Linked DNA regions of Homo sapiens: region 1 is linked to region 2. Evidence: promoter capture Hi-C in 16 types of primary human blood cells and fetal thymus (Javierre and others, 2016). All regions are on one chromosome and are shown on one strand. Each heading gives the region's core, a stretch centred on a gene start or on the middle of the fragment in contact. The rest is flanking DNA. Distances are from core to core; before and after follow the strand shown.

Region 1 (7,156 bases), core at 1,903-4,402, 3.9 Mb before region 2:
ATATGTGTCATAGGAGTTTTGCAGCATGCCAGCATTGGACAGCATCCCGACTTCTTAGTAGCAAGCTGATTAGGCATCAATGGCACACACAATATTGTAAGCTCACTAAACCCAATTCAGCTTCCTTCTGCGTATACAGCTAAGTCACAGTTCTTCACAGGTTGCAGTGAGGCTGGGGCACGGGTGAGCTCTGGCCAATGGGACATATGTGGAAGTAATGCATACTGCACTAGGCCTGGCACACAGAAATGACCCTCCTTTGATCCTCTCTCTCCTCCTGCGCTGCACTGATCTTGGAGGCCATGTGTTAAATGGTGGCATCACAAGAAGGAAGAAGCCTGCTTCCTGAGAGACTGTGCAGAGCTGGATGAATGCATAGAGCAAAGCACTCACTTTTCCTATCACCATTCCAGTGAACTCCTTTGTGACAAGAGTGAGCAATAAACTTTTGCTGTGATAAGCCACTGATACCGTGGTTATTACAGCTGACAACCTACCCTAATACACAGTTCTTAATAGTCTCCAGAAATGTGCTATTTAGATTGAATATTAAATTTTAGTAATCCTTTAAAACTTAGATTTTTAACAATGTTTAGTTGTACATAAAAATGCATACATACGGCTTTATGGATCTGTTTTCAGTCTATTAGAAAGATCTTCACAGCCCACGCAAGCAGGGCTGGAAGTAGGAGGCTAACGGAATGAGAGTAGCATTTCAGGAAACTGCTATACTGTGTGCATTAGGAAACTGGTTTGCTACACTGTGTGCATTAAGAAACTGGTCTGCTATACTGTGTGCGTTTATTCAAAATATCTAATACCTGCTACCTACCAAGCATCACGCTGGAGACTAAGGGCAAAAAGAGGAATGAAATGCAGACCCTGCTATCAAACTCTTCATGGTAGTGGGCAAAAAAAGTGAGACTAAGCTATTAGTGAACAATGCCATGCCCACAGAAGACAAGACTTACGTAAGAAAATGCTGCAGCACAGGGAACAACTACCCCTCCCTACAAGAACAGGAAATGCTTCAAAGAAATAGGGGCATGTAAGAGACTGCAAATTAGTAACTTCGGGGAAAAGTGTTTCAAAGAGCCCTGCTCTTTGCTGAAGTAACCCAAGATAATGCCTAACTTCCTCTATCAGTTTTATGTAAAACTATGGGACCTATTCCAAGGACAGGATCAAAATGTGGTATTTTTTGTGGTTTCCAAAGTGCTTTCTTCAGGCGGACTTTACTTAACACTAAGGAATAAAAAGTCTAACTTCTAAAAAAAGTGTGCCTTAGTACATTTTAAAATTTTGGGCATAAAGAAAATTCTCCAGTTTTAATAATATACATTATTCAACCAGAGGGTAACAATATGGTTCCTAGGTACCAGCAATCACAAGTGAGCCAGTTCACTCACCAAGAAGAAAATGCAGTTCCATGGCTATGTATTTTACCCTTAACCTTGTTCAGCATTCTCACAAACACTGGCCACAAGAGTCCAGGAAACTGTAAATAGGTCTATTTAGCACTCCTGAAAAAAATTCACAGCACGTGTCTTAATAATGTGAGCCCATAGCTCCAAAAGTGCATTCGGTTAGGATGTTAATGTGAGAAATTTAAAATGTCCCAGATAGCTGAGGGTTGATACTGGGAGGAAAAATAGAACTATACTGTTACGTAAAGACAACACTACCTTGGCAATATCCTCCCAAATTCCACTCAAGATAAAGCTGCTTGCCAAAAGTGTGAACTGCACACTCTTCTTGGGTCTATTTATATTCAATTCTTCTTTTTTATAAGATTAACTAGAACTACCCCTTTACTGCAAATGTTTTACATTTACCACACGGATGGTTTGTGATGCAAAAAGAATAACTTCCTAGGAATCCACAAATGTTCTGTCCTCATATCTGGCATCTCATAAATATGAAGAAGAGAAAGTCATAAAATGAAAAACAACTATTTTTTTTTACATACTTGCAATCATTTCATACATCATAAAACAGCTCTAATTTTGCTAGAAACAGCCAATAATAATAAAGTAACTGAAAACAAAGCCTGGATGTGTCAAAATGCCACAGGCACTTTTAAAACCCGTAACAGCCCACATAAACAACTCAAATACAGGGCAATTAAAGATTTGCAAATACTCAATAAGCTTTTTTTTCCATATGCACCCATAATGTAAAAACATTATTTTCCTATCATTTTCCATTTTCTTGCTTTTCTTCTGACTCTAAAATTAGCTAAATTGCCCCATCTCCAAGTTACCTCAGACAGTTGTTTCCAACAACCTTCTGTAAAAAAAAGTTTAGTAAAGAGGGAAAGAAGCAAATATATTTCTATTTACCCATATAAGATTTAATGTAATATGTGAAGTACAGTATGTAAAATACCAAAATATTTTTGAATGGCATATCAAAACTATAAACTCTTCAATAAAATATTGATACCATATGATAAAAATGTTATTCTTCTGGAGTATGGTTTATAAACAGAACAGAATACTCTTTTAAACCATGGCAAATATCCATTTATAGGTAAAAGAAAACAAAAAAAGTACACTTCACTTTGAAAATTTAAATGCAAATTTTTAAAATATCATGGAAGATACATAAGAGAGGTGAGAGGGCACAGCCTAAAAGTGATTGATTGTTAATACTCTATTTGCTGTTTCTAGTGGGACAAAACAAAGCACTGTTTTTTAGTAAAATATAACATGACGATACATCAAACATAATTGTAGTCACCATTTATGGATTCCCTATTTGGGGCCTGGCTTTGTATTATGTACTTTCATTTATCCTCACCGAATCCTATCAAGTGGGATTATTTTCCTTGTTTCAAAGATGGAGATACTGAGGTTTATGGAGGTCATAGCACTTCTAAGCCAGTATTCCCATTCAGGTCTGTACACTCTATAATATTGTCTTGAAGAAAATCTTCTATTACGTGGTAAACACTCTAGCATGCTCTTCCAAGATAATTACAGTCATCTCTCAGTATCTGAGAGAGATTGGTTCCAGGACTCCAAGGATACCAAAATCCAGGGATATTCAAGTCCCCTATACAAAATGGTACAGTATTTGCACATATACGCAACCTCCCATATATTTTAAATTATCTCTAGATTACTTATAATACCTAATACAATGTAAACCAATGTAAACAGTTGTTACACTGTACTGTTTTTTAAATCTGCATTATTTTTTCATTACTATATTGTTATTTCTTATTTATTTTTTTAAATATTTTCACTCCATGGTTGATTGAATCCAAAAATGCAGAACCTGCAAATATGGGGGGCCAACTATACTTAAGATGGGAATAAATTTATCTTTTCTTTGCTTGAGGTTTCCTTAATCAGCTATTTCATCGTTTACTTCTGTAAAATCCATAACCATATTTAAATTTATTCCTTAGCATATCTACACTTATATCTATATATGTAGATATAAATTTATATAGATATAGATTTAAATTTAGATATATAGATATAATTTAGATATACTAAGGAATAAGAAAAGCACCATTATATATATAACTGAAAACTCAAAGTTGGAAAATCCAATCTTTCTCATGAGTGATTATTTCTGACTATAAATCATCATATAGATCCCTTGGGTATACCTACAGAACCCATGAGGGTTACTGAATTCCAATAACAAGCATTCTCAAATAAAAACCACTTCTAAATAGCCATTTAATAAGGATAATTAACATCTATTAGGAAAGCCATTAATACTGAAGCTGGCGTTTTTTAAAGAATAGCACATGGGCTGCTGTTGGTCCTTTCCAGGTAGCCCATGAACGAATCCCTAGAAACATTATCACCTAAATTTCTGGCTTGAACTAACACCCACTGGCAATTCACTCTCGCCATGTCTCATCACAAGCCATGTTGTTTTCTAAGTTTTGGTGAATTTCTGGCTCACATAAGTGGAAGTAGACCAGGATAGAGAATAAGAGTCTTTTATCTTCTTAAGATAAAAAAGTTCAGTTCCAAAAATATATGCAACATTGCCTGGCTCTATAATTTAATTATACAAATAAAAATGTTTTTCAAATAAAATAAAATGACTTGAAAATATTCTAGCATTTAAAAGAAATATTTGATACCTTCAAGTACAAGATTTTCCCAAATAGTAGAACTTCCCCCATATTAAGCTTACCTTGAAGATGGCATTATATTTGAAGCCCTGAATTTTGCTGTAAATGGATTGGTTGACTCATAATCAAAATAGTCCTGGCGATTTTCACTAAATGCATTAGGTGATTTCAAGTCACAAGGGCTATCAGATCCCCCATTGTTAAGTTTATCAGATCTTCTGCTATCTTTTTTTCCAGTCACTCTTTCAAACAGGCTAACTTTCTCCCTTTTCTCTCTTTTATTTTCTTTTCTTATTTCAATTGGTTTTGAAAATAAATTCATGCTGCTGTCCCATGTTTCGCTGCTTTCTTCAAATGGATTTTTCTTCCTTGGCAGTGTTGCAAATTTTTGGGGTAATGAAGCAGTCACATTTGTAAATGGGTCATTTTGTCTTCCGAAACACAATTCACCTTCATCCACAATGCTGTCAGGTTGGTTCATTTTAGAAGTATCAAAGCTTAATGTTCTTCTGTGTGGAGATTTGAGACTTCCTACAAACAATTTTGTAGTTAGTACATAATCAGTGACACATTACATCACACTATTTGACACAGTCTGTGTGCATTCTGCTGCTTTTAGAATGAGAGCAATTAGCCACTTAAATGTATTAACCTTCAAAAAATCAAGGAAACAATCTTAAAATGCTAAGGTGTAGCAGTCTGAAGCATCGAGGCTGATAACAACTAGCATATTGCTAGACCATTAGTAATGTATTCAGCTCACAATCATATAAACTATGATGTCAAAACTAGAGGTTCTGGTTGGCATGATAATGTTAAAAATTCTCAGAGACTTTTTCATTAGCATTAAATTTACTTTCTTACTTCTGAACATAAAAGTTTTCTTCTAAGGACTTTATGATGAAATGGAACATTCATTTATGCTCAGGGTTTTGAGATAGCAGAAACAGCAGTAAAACAGGCAGCCAAGCCATAAAAGGAAACTGGCACTCATTTTATTATCATCTAATAATATAAATACAAATGCAGACAAGCTCTGCCTTCAAGGAACTTACCAATTTGAGGTATAGTAGGTACTCAATATTTGATGAATGACAAAATTTGGAAAATACTACAAAGCAACTGCTATTTTGATTTACTAAATTTAGAAATTAAACTTTAAAAACTAAAAGGGTAGTTCAGACCAATGAGTACACAAGAATGTGACACTTACCACTTTCTGGAACTGTTCCAAAGGAATCTAACTGGTGTCCGAGAAGATGTGTTTGACCTATGGTGCCAGCCTTCAGTTTCTCAGAAGACATATGGGACCCAGATAAATCAGACATTGAATGCGCTGACGAGAGTCGCTGAGGACCCAAGAGAAAAGGCTTTTTTGGTTTGGATTTCATCTGTATTTCACCACTTGAAAATTCACTATTGGCATCGGGCATGTGAGTACTTGGAATGATTGCAGAAGACGTATCAGAAAATGTTCCATCATTTTTTCTACCCTTCATCTTATCTTTTAACTTTGCAAAAGGAGATCTGGTTTTGTCCTTCATTGATAAGTCAAACATACTTGCGGTCATATTGTTCCTCATAAACTGAATATTGACCTTTATCTCACCCCTGTTTTTGATTCGTTTTCCTTGTTTGGATTCTAATCTAAACCACCTTAAAGAGAAGAAAAAAAAATTGGCTGTAACACATAATAGAGAGAGGATACTGAGTTCTGTTACATACAAATAGCCTTTTAGGTAAAGTAACTATACATCAAGGCAACCTAAGCTCTGAATAAGAATCTGTCAGCCACAGTATTTCGGGCTTTACTTATTATTTAGTTTAAAAAACTGATCATTGTCTCTGTGATGTAACATATACTGAAGGAATGAATAGGTCTTTGGCAAGTTTGAAAATGTTTTCAGATAATCTTTTCTTTTGTAATTTGAAAATCACTCATCATCAAAAATTCTTATCAATGCTAGAAGTTTTCCATATGGGATTAAGTGTTGCTCACGGCCTAAGGACATTTTTTTTTAACATTAAAAGACATTGAGGCAGAGATTTTGAAAGAATTCACCAATACAAATTATTTTTGAGCATTATAAAATGAATCTCATGACATTTTAATACAATAATAAATACCTGGCCCCATCCCAAAATATTACTTACGTAAAAGTAGCAAAAGAATTTTGTTAACATTGGAGATCATTGCATATAGCTTGCTAATCATTAAAACAGCATATGATGTCATTTAGATTGACATAAAATGAATCAAAGCCTACTCCTGAATAAAATATGCAAAAAATAAGTAAAATGCAAGAAGTGACAAAAAATAAATCTTGTGAAGTTTTCAAAAGGAAAAAAAAAAACCTAAAATGCTTCTTGTTTGAATCTATTTGCTTCATTTTACTATTGCTACTGTGACAATACCAAATAAAAATTATTTTGAAAATGAAGCCAAATCTTACGTTTTAGTCCCTTCAATGTATGGCACTATCTGTATTTAAATGATATACAAGAAGCAATATTTTGGTTTTATAGTATTTTTATCCATGAGAAATTCTCCAGTTGGCCATGTCACAAGTGGTCATTCTATGGGAAAACAGCCAAAAAAAACTACAAAATCAAGCCTGAAAGAGTTTCTACAATGTTTTCACATAACTTAGCAATGAGGCATAATATCCATTCCTGCACACAGGTTATTATTTAAATATAGCTCTAATCGAGTGTAACAAATTTTCTTAGCTACAAAGGAACTCTGATCTAATTTTACATTAGTTCTTTCTCTCATTGTTACCAACTGGATATGCCAAGAGAAGATTACATTTACTGTATATCAAGTTGAAATACTGGCACATGATATAAATACCAGCTACATCTTTGCACGTAACATGGAAGAAAAATATTTTCTTGATTAACTAAATTGGAGCTATTCAATCAATTCAGATATAGTTGCATCAAAACTAGCCATTTCTTAGAATATCAATATTTTAAAATACTATTAGCCTGAGACCTTAAACTGAGAAAATCCCTTATATAAGGCAAATGGTAAAATCTGAAGAAACAGGG
Region 2 (4,216 bases), core at 1-2,500:
GTAATCATGTCGCATAAGCCATTTGCATCCTGTTGATTTTCTCCGTTTAAGTCCAAACTGGAAGCATTTTTCCATTTAGTCTTCATAATCCTCACTTCTAACGATTGCATAACTGTCTACTCAAAACCGCTGCCCACAAGTAGCACTTAATAAACACTTTTAATGAAGGAGCAAATGCACACACCGTTATCGACCAAATCATTCCCCACTTACACCTTTTTCATGGAAAATGCCTGTGTGTTTTCATGCGAATCTCGTTTTCCACAAAGCTAGACTGTTCTATTAAAATAATAGAGTCTACATTCTATATTGGCAAATGCATGGCAAGAGAGGAAATAAACACGATGTTTTGTTTACCAGCAACAAATCTCCCCCAAAGAAATCTGAATCACGATGGAAAAACAAAACAAACTTGTGGGCTGGCTTTGCTGTCGTCCGGGTGGGTGGAGGAAAGACACGGCATATAAGCAAATGGTAAAAATTTCAAACAGATCAGGACAAACAGAATCCCTCGCCGGTAGCGACCGCGGTCACCAGTTTCTTGTCCTTTTTTTTTTTAACTTTTTTTTTTTTTAACCCAGAGATGCAAAGGGCTCATCCTTCCTGTACATTCGTCCAGGGAAGTCTGATTCATACATGACCGGCACCTGTGTGCACACCCACAGCTCCCTCTGCACCGCGTTTCGCCCTCGCTCCCGGGACGCTCCCACCGCAGCACCCACCGGTCAGCCCCGGCCATTAACTACGGCTCTGGGGCGTTCCCTGGCACTGCGCGCCGTCCTTCACCTCACACAATCTACCCCAGACGGGCGTCCGTCTCCCGACTCTGGGGAGACCACCACGATTTCGAGAGTACGGGCACCGGTTAGGATTTTCCTGCAGAACAGGCACCGCGAAGCTGCCCCGCTAAGCCGGCGCCGCGGCCCTCCCGAGAGTGCCCCCTCCGTCTCGGCCGTGGCACTGGGGCCAGGGGCTCCGGCCCCCTCGCGTCCTCGCTGGGGGACCCTGGGATCCCGAGACCCGGGCGCCCGGCTTCCCACGCCCGCCGGCCCGGCTCGCTCACCATTGGAGCGGCTGCCCGACTCGTTCTTGCAGTAGCCGCAGCGGTAGAAGTCCTCGCTAGGGAAATAGTCCACGACGCTGGGCGAACCCCCCGCCCAGAAAGCCATGGCCTCGGCCCCGCGAACGCTCAGCCGCCCGGCCCCGCGTCGCTAGCGCGGCCGCCGCCGCCACCCCACAATGCAGCGCGCCGCCCGGGAGCCTCCCGAGGCTCGCGCGAAGCCACTCGGGCGCCCGCAGGCCCGGCCGGCCCGGCGCCTCTTGGAGCTGACGCCGCCCGCGCCATCTTGACCGAGGGCAGCTTTCCACTATTTCCGTTCCTTCTCCATAAGGGGCCGCCGTCGTCAGTGAGGGTGAGGCGGAGAGACAGAGCGGGAAGGGAAACAGGATGGGGAGAGTCAAGAGGGGAAGGGAAGCGGGAGTCGGGGTGCGAGCCTGCCCTTTCCCCCGCCGAGGGCCTGTGCGGGGCGCGGCGGCCGCGCCAACTCCGGCGTCGGGAACACTCACCGCAGGACGCTTTGCCCTCCTTGGAATCGCAGTAGCCGCAGTGGTAGCCGGCCCTGAGGCCCTTGTATTCCACCACCGACGCCATGGCCGCCGCGAGGGTCCGCTCGGGCCGACCACGCCTCTTGGCGCCCGGGGCCGACCTCGGCGAAGCGCTGGGGCCCGCGGCGGGAGGGGTGGAGAGCGAAGCCTGGCGCGGGGACCCGTGGGCGGGGATGGTGGTCGTGTCCCCAAGCCCTGCGTTTGGGCCGGTGCTTCCCACAGCTGTGCGTTATCAGCCCCATTTCACAGGTAAGGAAACTGAGGACCGGAGGTTGTGATTATCCCAAAGTCATTCCCGGCGGGTCTCGGATTGAAAGTCAGGCCGCCCCTGGCCACCGTGTAAGTGACTTGCTGGAGCTGCTTCCAGACCAGCTGGCACGCACTCCAGTGCCCTGAATACAAGAACACAAGCAGGTATTCCGTGAATGGCGAGGGTTCGCAAATTAAAGAACTCTTAACGGCTTTTAAAGGAAACAACTGTCAGCTAGAGACAGTTGCTGTCTTGTACCACTATAAGTCCGGTGCCTCATACGATTTTTAATGAGATGCTGGAAATACAGGGTTTGTTTGTTTTTTTTAACTCTACAGTCCAAACAAAACAGTTTTACAGGCTGAATCCAGCCCATGGGCCTCCATTTTGCAACCACTATTTTAAGGAAGATTTAAGGAATAAGAGTCTAGGGCAAAATATAAAATTGAGGCTCATGCCTGTAATCCCAGCACTTTGGGAGGCCGAGGCGGGCGTATCATGAGGTCAGGAGATTGAGACCATCCTGGCTAACACGTGAAACCCCGTCTCTACTAAAAATACAAAAAATCAGCCTGGCGTGGTGGTGGGCGCCTGTAGTCCCAGCTAGTCGGGAGGCTGAGGCAGGAGAATGGTGTGAACCCGGGAGGCGGAGCTTGCAGTGAGCCGAGATCACGCCGCTGCACTCCAGCCTGTGTGACAGAGCAAGACTCCATCTCAAAAAAATTTTTTAAAAAATGAGTTCCAGGGGCGGGCGCGGTGGCTCACGCCTGTAATCCCAGCACTTTGGGAGGCCGAGGCGGGTGGATCACGAGGTCAGGAGATAAGAGACCATCCTGGCTAACATGGTGAAACCCCTTCTCTACTAAAAAATACAAAAAATTAGCGGGACGTGGTGGCACGCGCCTGTAGTCCCAGCTACTCGGGAGGCTGAGGCAGGAGAATGGCGTGAACCCGGGAGGCAGAGCTTGCAGTGAGCAGAGATCGCGTCACTGCACTCCAGCCTGGGCGAAAGAGCGAGACTCCATCTCAAAAAAAAAAAAAAAGAGTTCCAACAAGGTAATATGCCTTATCTTTCCCTCTGCGTGCACAGATAATTTAAGCCTGTCTGTCCTCATAGTTTTCCCAGTCAACAATAAAGCTGATGATACAATATTGTTTTAAGTGTGTTTAAAAAAGTGAAATGAAACTCAGAGAAATAGAAATAAATTTTTGAGGTGAGTTTTGACATTCTTGACCCCAAGGGCCTGTGTTAGATATGTACCTAGCTGAAGGAGGTTTCTTGGTGGCCTGGTGACTTGTTGAAGGGGGCCAGCCCCTCCACACCTGTGGGTGTTTCTCGTCAGGTGGGACGAGAGACTGAGAAAAAAAGTAAGACACAGAGACAAAGTGTAGAGAACAGTGGGCCCAGAGGACCAGGGCTCAGCATACGGAGGACCCGCGCCAGCACTGGTCTCTGAGTTCCCTCAGTATTTATTGATCACTATCTCTACCATCTCGGTGAGGGGGATGTGGCAGGACTATAGAGTAATGGTGGGGAGAGGGTCAGCAGGAAAACGTGAGCAAAGATCTCTGTGTCATAAGTTTAAGGAAAGGTGCTATGCCTCAATGTGCACGTAGGCCAGATTTATGTCTGGCTTTACACAAACATTTTAGTGCAGTAAAGAGCAATATTGCCGCCAGCATGTCTCACCTCCAGCCATAAGGCGGTTTTCTCCTATCTCAGTAAATAGAACGTATGATCGAGTTTTACACTGAGACATTCCATTCCCAAGGAAAAGCAGGAGAGAGATGCCTTCCTCTTACCTCAACTGCAAAGAGGCCTTCCTCTTTCACTAATCCTCCTCAGCACAGACCCTTTATGGGCTGGGGGACGGTCAGGTCTTTCCCTTCCCACGAGGCCATATCTCAGGCTATCACATGGGGAGAAACCTTGGACAATACCTGGCTTTCCTGGGCAGAGGTCCCTGTGGCCTTCCACAGTGCATTGTGTCCCTGGATACTCGAGATTAGAGAATATCAATGACTTTTACCAAGCATACTGTCTTCAAACACATTTTTAACAAAGCACATCCTGCACAGCCCTAAATCCATTAAACCTTGAGTCAACACAGCACATGTCTGTGCAGGCACAGGGTTGGGGCTAGGGTTACAGATTAACAGCATCTCAAGGCAGAAGAATTTCTCTTAGTACAGAACAAAATGGAGTTTCTTATGTCTACTTCTTTCTACGAAGACACAGTAACAGTCTGATCTCTCTTTGTTTTCCCCACGCTTGTTAATACTGCCAAGCATCACTTGTGCCTCCCACAATCGGAAGGCACCTAAGGAGTGGCCATGTAATATCCAGCAGCTTCTCAGGCG

Evidence for each region. Contacts are between HindIII fragments. The CHiCAGO score rates a contact against its expected background, and 5 or more counts as called.
Region 1: a contact is called between a fragment that was not itself captured here and the fragment with the promoter of ATE1 in region 2, in 1 of 17 cell types (total B cells). The highest score is 5.4, in total B cells.

The regions. Positions count from the first base shown.
Region 1 is chr10:118,034,808-118,041,963 of GRCh38, forward strand. It overlaps RAB11FIP2 (RAB11 family interacting protein 2), which reads right to left. Exons shown (of 5, transcript NM_014904.3): 2 at 5,316-5,758; 3 at 4,165-4,633. Among named protein-coding and RNA genes, the nearest start is that of CASC2, 8.4 kb to the right of the region's middle. RefSeq lists a silencer at 820-1,013. The HindIII fragment of the contact is 2,009 bases long and covers 2,149-4,157 here.
Region 2 is chr10:121,926,781-121,930,996 of GRCh38, forward strand. It overlaps ATE1 (arginyltransferase 1), which reads right to left and starts at 1,251. Exons shown (of 12, transcript NM_001001976.3): 1 at 1,064-1,251. The coding sequence starts at 1,169. It also overlaps the pseudogene ATE1OSP. RefSeq lists enhancers at 463-612, 1,151-2,017 and silencers at 923-1,342, 1,533-1,832, 3,654-3,948. The HindIII fragment of the contact is 6,802 bases long and covers 1-4,216 here.